2 separate regions of the Homo sapiens genome follow, and region 1 is linked to region 2. The links are contacts of gene promoters, found by promoter capture Hi-C in human tissues and cell types (Jung and others, 2019). All regions are on one chromosome and are shown on one strand. The core of a region is centred on a gene start or on the middle of the fragment in contact, and the rest is flanking DNA. Distances in the headings are between cores, read along the strand shown. Region 1 has its middle 33 kb from the start of TERB2. Region 2 holds the start of DUOXA1 (dual oxidase maturation factor 1).

The links. The method cuts DNA at HindIII sites, captures the fragments that hold promoters and counts their contacts. A contact is called where the count stands out against the background at its distance.
Region 1: a fragment that was not itself captured here is called in contact with the fragment with the promoter of DUOXA1 in region 2 in 1 of the 25 tissues and cell types used here (spleen).

Annotation. Positions count from the first base shown.
Region 1 is chr15:44,987,806-44,990,685 of GRCh38, reverse strand. No RefSeq gene overlaps it. Among named protein-coding and RNA genes, the nearest start is that of TERB2, 33 kb to the right of the region's middle. The HindIII fragment of the contact is 3,284 bases long and covers 1-2,880 here.
Region 2 is chr15:45,128,269-45,131,350 of GRCh38, reverse strand. DUOXA1 (dual oxidase maturation factor 1) reads left to right here and starts at 1,472. Exons shown (of 9, transcript NM_001276266.2): 1 at 1,472-1,499; 2 at 1,736-1,891; 3 at 2,217-2,333. DUOX1 (dual oxidase 1) reads right to left here and starts at 1,357. Exons shown (of 34, transcript NM_175940.3): 1 at 1,253-1,357. The HindIII fragment of the contact is 11,393 bases long and covers 504-3,082 here.

The sequences.
Region 1 (2,880 bases), core at 86-2,585, 140 kb after region 2:
CTGGTAGATCCCTTGAGCCAAGGAGTTTGAGACCAGCCTGCGCAACAAGGTGCAACCCTGTCACTGCCAAAAAAAAAAAGAGAGAGAAGAGAACACTTTATAACTTGTTTTATGAGGCCAGCATAACCTTGATATCCAAAACAGACAAGGACATTACAAGAAAGGAAAATTACAGGATGATCTCTCTCATCAACATACATGTGAAAATTCTGAACAAAATATTAGCAAATCTAATTGTATTAATACATTCAAAGCATGTATAGTTTTTTGTTTTTTTGTTTGTTTGTTTGTTTTTGAGATGGAGTTTTGCTCTTGTTGCCCAGGCTGAATTGCAATAGCACGATCTTGGCTCATCCCAAGCTCTGCCTCCCAGGTTGAAGCTATTCTCCTGCCTCAGCCTCCCGAGTAGCTGGGATTACACGCATGTGCCATCATGCCTAGCTAATTTTTTGTATTTTTTAGTAGAGACAGGATTTCTCCATGTCGGTCAGGCTGGTCTTGAACTCCCGACCTCAGGTGATATGCCCGGCCTCCCAAAGTGCTGGGATTACAGGTATGAGCCACCACACCTCGCCAAGCATGTATAGTTTTTAAAAGCTCAACAACATGATCTGATGTGCAGTCAGGTTTGATCCACTGTTGTACATGATATAAGATGTCATCATCACAGACCATAATAGTAAATTCCCAATTGAATTGCCAATTTAGAAGCTTGACTTTTCCCGGTCACTTCAGCATTATGTAGGAAAAGACTGAACTTTAAAACCAGAGTGATCAGAGATGGAATCACAATTCTTTTTTGTTGTTGTTGTTGTTTTTTGACAGAGTCTCGCTCTGTCGCCCAGGCTGGAGTGCAGTGGCACAATCTCAGCTCACGGCACGCTCCATTGCTTGGGTTCACGCCATTCTCCTGCCTCAGCCTCCTGAGTAGCTGGGAGTGCAGGCGCCTGCCACCACACCTGGCTAATTTTTTTTTTTGTATTTTTAGTAAAGATGGGGTTTCACCGTGTTAGCCAGGATGGTCTCGATCTCCTGACCTCGTGATCTGCCTGCCTCAGCCTCCCAAAGTGCTGGGATTACAGGCGTGAGCCACCGCGCCCGCCTGGAATCACAATTCTTAGAATTTACTAGCTACGTGATTTTGGACAAGTTACCAAACCTGTTAGTGTCCATTTTTTTCAGACGTAAAATAAGAATAACACTAACTCTCTGTAATGTTCAATTGTGGAATTAAGGAGACAGTATTTATACAGGCAATATGTTGGGATGACACCCCAAAGTATCCCTAAAACTTAGAATATAAATCAATGGGACCCAAATAAAAAGGATGAGGTTAGACACCAGTAGAAATGACACAGCCAAAGAGATTATTGGATTATTTGTGGGTGTGTAATAGTCTCACCAACACCCAGATCAAATTTAAGTGGCCTGGGTATACTGTCATCTTTGGAAAATAGGAACTGGACTGCACCGGATTAGGTTAAGTCTCAACCTAATCGGTTGCATAATAACATAGGACGAAAACAATGTGCCAATCCCCACAGTAGGAACACCCTAATAACAGACATGGAGGCATCAGGCCAGTGAAGCAGGGTGGCATCAGCCATTAGAACCATGGAGCCTCCCGTACCCCACCCCTGGGGTTTCCTGCTCACTGGGCCACCTTCTGGTGACATTTTTACAGATGTGCCTATGGAAAGGGGATGACATGATGAGCCAACAAGCACATCCATCAAATCCCCTAGAGCGGTATCAATGGAAATCTAAAAGCCCTAGAAATGGGACCTTGGCCACCTCACTGCCCTTAGTGCCTGGGTGATGCTGGAGAGGATATTTTTAAGCCTCCATCTTTTTCTCCCATCCCAGTCTAGTCAGTTTATATGGCAATGAGGTGAGGAAAGGAAGCTTTGGTGATTCAGGTTTCTGGGGTGGCCACTGCATGCTTCATCATGACAAGACTGTGATGGTGACTTCTCAGACTTAGCAAATACTAGCACTTATCCCTTCTGAAGTAAAGCAGGTCCATTATGAGATGGTTTTTAATATGGCCACTTCTGGTATCTTTCATTTTTCAGAGAACATCTTGTATAACTCAAACTCCTTCTCCTCTCCTTCCTTAGTGCTGTGCCCTTGTTTGCTTCTTTCATCTCCCAGAATGCAGTCTGAACTTCAGTCACTTCCACGGCCCCCCTTTTCCTCCACACTACGCTTTTTCCCATGATCATTCTGAATACTTGTCACTGACCCTGTGGAGATCTCTTTCTCCACAGTTCATTTCCCAGTTTCACTTTCTCCTACTCAATGATGTCCCTCTCCTACCCATTCCCAGGATATGCTGAGTTTAACCACAGTCCATCATGCCAGAAAGACTAGTATGTGACGCATGGACAAAATGCTGTTTATTTTTCATGGGACAAAATGTAATGTTTTCCTGAAGGGTTATTGTTGTAATCTCTACCTGTACCAGACAACAGACAGGCTGACCTTTAGAAGGTAAAACTAAACTTCTTCCTTTTCAACTCACCCCTGTCACCATTTCAACTTCTAGGGGTTGGCAAATAAGGAGGTAGAGCTTGTTCTGTTTGATCAGTATTCTTTGCACTTAATGATCCTTATGTGCTCCAGCTTTGGCAGTTAAATCAACAATATTAATTTTGTTTTCAGTATGTGCAGAGCACCAAACCACAAGAGAAAGTGCATGACAGACAGACTCCTTGTCCTGAAAGAGATGACACTCTATGGGGAAAGACCACCCCTACTCCAAGAACACATACAACCACTCAAATGATTCAAATGGAAAAGTAGGGTGAGCGTCATCCTTACCACAAGTGCAGTCATAGGTGTGCTCCCCAAATCAGCCTGTATGGAGGCTAAGAGCAT
Region 2 (3,082 bases), core at 223-2,722:
TAGGCGGGAGCTTGTCTCCTCTGGTTGGATCCAGAAGGGATGCACTACCAGGTGCTCATGTATTTAGTGCAAGCTTCCTGCTCTCTCTCTCTCCACCCAGAGTCAACAGGGAAACAGAGGCAGCAGAGGACTCAGGCTGGGACTCCTGAGTGCGAGTAAGGAGTACCTAAAGCCGGCGAAGACCTCCTGAAGGCAACCTGGAGATTGGGGTTAGGATAGAGGAAGAAAGGAGCTCAGGGAAAGCCTCATCCCCAGCCAAACATCAGGGTTCCTGGATGGGTTGTCTAGAGGAGAGAACCCAGGGAGTGACCTCATCCCTACTCCATCTCCTATTAAATGAAAAAACCTAGGCCCTGCCATAACTGGAAAGCTCAGTATCACCTGCTGCATTTCACAGAGTCTGTCCAGGTGCTGGCCTTTAATAGTGCATGAAGAGCTGGGCTCTGGATGGTTGAAGCTGTAAAGCTGGATATACGGAAGTAGCCACAGCGGTCCTTCCCTGATCCCAAGATGTCATTCCCCTCCCCCGCCACCACCATGTCTTCAGGATCCTGGGCCTCAACGCTAATGTACCACTCAGCCCCTAAGGGCATGAAATGGGCTTTCAGACCAGGCTGTGTGGGGATGACCTGAAGAGGAAGGTGGACATGCTTAATAACCACTCCTTGTGGGTGGGTTGCCCTTAATGATTTACACAACGATGGGGCAGTAACTTCTCAACAACCTTGACAGGAAGGTTGCCCAGGACAGGGCAGTGAAGCCCCAGGCAGAGCCAGCGGCAGAACCAGAGAGAGAACACAGGCCTGCCTGTTCTTGCCCCACATGGCTGCTTTTCCAGCCTGAAGCCCTAGAGTGGTGACCCTGGTGGCCCTGAGGTGGGAGGAAGATGGGTCAAGGCCATCTTGGTCCTAAGGGAGGGCTGAGGGGGAAAGCTTGGATCCTAAAGCCCAAAGCTCCCTCCCTGGTATGTTGTGCTGGTGCCAGGAGAAGAACCCGCAGGCCCAGGCAAACTAGGCCACCCAACATTCCCAGGTCCCAAAGAACCCAGTCTCTCAAAACCTTGATTGGGCAGAGGACAGGCCCTAACAGGACCGGTTTTAGCCTTAGGATAAGATCGGAGGCGCAGGGGGCTAGCATTCCCCTTTCTTCCATAACGTGGAGGAGCTGCGGCTCCCCCGCCACCCTGCCCTTGGAGCTCCCTCCCCCGGAGCGCCCAGGCCCGCGGGCCGGGAAAAGCCCTCCCAAATCTGACCTGCGGCCACGGCGTCACCAGAGCCCGGGACTGCAACTTGTCTCCGGCCTGGCTGCCAGCTGGGCCCGCGGAGCCCTCTCTCGTCCGGTGCCTCTGCAGCTCTGCGCCGGGACGGGCGGGGCTGGGGGTGAGGAGGGGAAGGCACGGCCCGGCTCGGCTCAGCCACGGGGCGGGGCGCAGTGGGGCGGGATGGAGTCTGGCGCCTGGGGAGGCGCGGAGGTGCTTCCAGCGGACGGCAGCGCGCGAGGTGAGACGGCGAGGGCTCCCGGGGCGCAGGTAGAGATGTTCCGTCGGTGCCGAAGGCCCGGCTAGTGCGGTTGTGTGGACGGCGAAAAAAGCAAGTCCGCCTTCACAAGTCCCATGGGGCTGGGGAGAGGGTGGGAGGCGGAGAGGGTATGGGGAGGGGAGACTCTCCTCAGATCCTCTCGACACCGTCGGGTCTGGGCTCCAAGTCCAAGGCCATCGATCACCTGCCACCCACAGACCAGGCCAGGCGTCAAAGCAAGTCACCCATCCGACCTAAACCCCTCTAAGACCCCGGAGTCACGTCTCCCTCCGGGGATCCTCGTGAGGTCTTGGGGGTCCCACCGCCCTGCGAGCCGCGCCCGCGCCCCGCCAGACCCGGAACTGCGTCGCTAGGTTTGCGCTGGAGCTGCTGGGATTGCTGGGCATGGGTGGGGGGGCGCAGAGGAGGAGGGGGGATTGGAGGGACCTCTGCGGAGCTGGCAGACCCCGGTACTACTGTCCTGGCGCACCCAGCCCTTCTCTGTACCAGGCCGGGAGAGGGAGGCGGCGCCGCAGAGCCTCGGGTGCAGTCTGAGAAGTTTGGGAGTGACTTGAAGAGTGACTGGAAGCACCCCAGACCCGGTTTGTCCGGTCACAGCCGGGTCCTTACGTGAGTTAGGAGAGGAGTGGGGGTCGGACGGGAGCCCCACTGAGAGTAAGGGCGCGCGTTTGTTCACAGAACGTCGGGACCTGGTTCCCTCTTTAATCACACCCCCGGGGGCGCTTCGTGTGAGGTTCCACGGGGGAAGGCGAGAGGCGCAGGCTGCCACACACGCACTGTTTGGAAGAGGGGAAGGTAGGGAATAGTGGTCCGGGTGTGGGTGGTGGGGGATGCGGCTGCTTAGATCTGTGCGGTCCAGGTGATTTTGGAGGGGGTCTTGAAGTGCTTGCTCCCGCCCTGGCACCTAGGGCTGCACTTCCTGCTTTCATCCAGACCAAGTTCGGATCAAGTGGGAGTTCTTCAAAGAGAGAGTTTGGTAAGAAACTGGGGAGGCAAGGAAAACCTCTTAAGGCCATAAATGCCACAAGGTTTATAGACATCGAATCGCCATCCCAGTTTAACTCGAGTCTGGATACTTTGGCTTGCATGATTCTGCACCCTTGAATTCCTTATCCACATCAGCCCTTACTGGGGAATCCTGCCTCCAATCCACTTTTCAGATCTTGTTCAATTTCTCCACTTAACTCCTATTTTTGTGCAACAACACACATATACATTCATACACAGATACACACGTACACACAGACCCCTTCCTTGAAGAGGAAAGTCTAGCACAGGAGTTCCTGACAGGGTCCCCTTAGCTAGCCACAGCTGTAAACGTTTAATGGGGTCTACCCCAATCAGAGAAAAAAGCATCACATTGCAGTAGCTGTGCATTACCAATCAGAGGTCTTGGCAACTCCAGCCATGTCACCCACTCCCCACTTGTGGAGAATTAGTGGCCCTTACTCTATAGTTTCCAGCAGATGGGGGAGGTGGGCAAGGGGGAAGACTTCAGGAAAAAAGTCCTGTCAGGCTACAAGAGAGGCCACAAGACGTTAGCA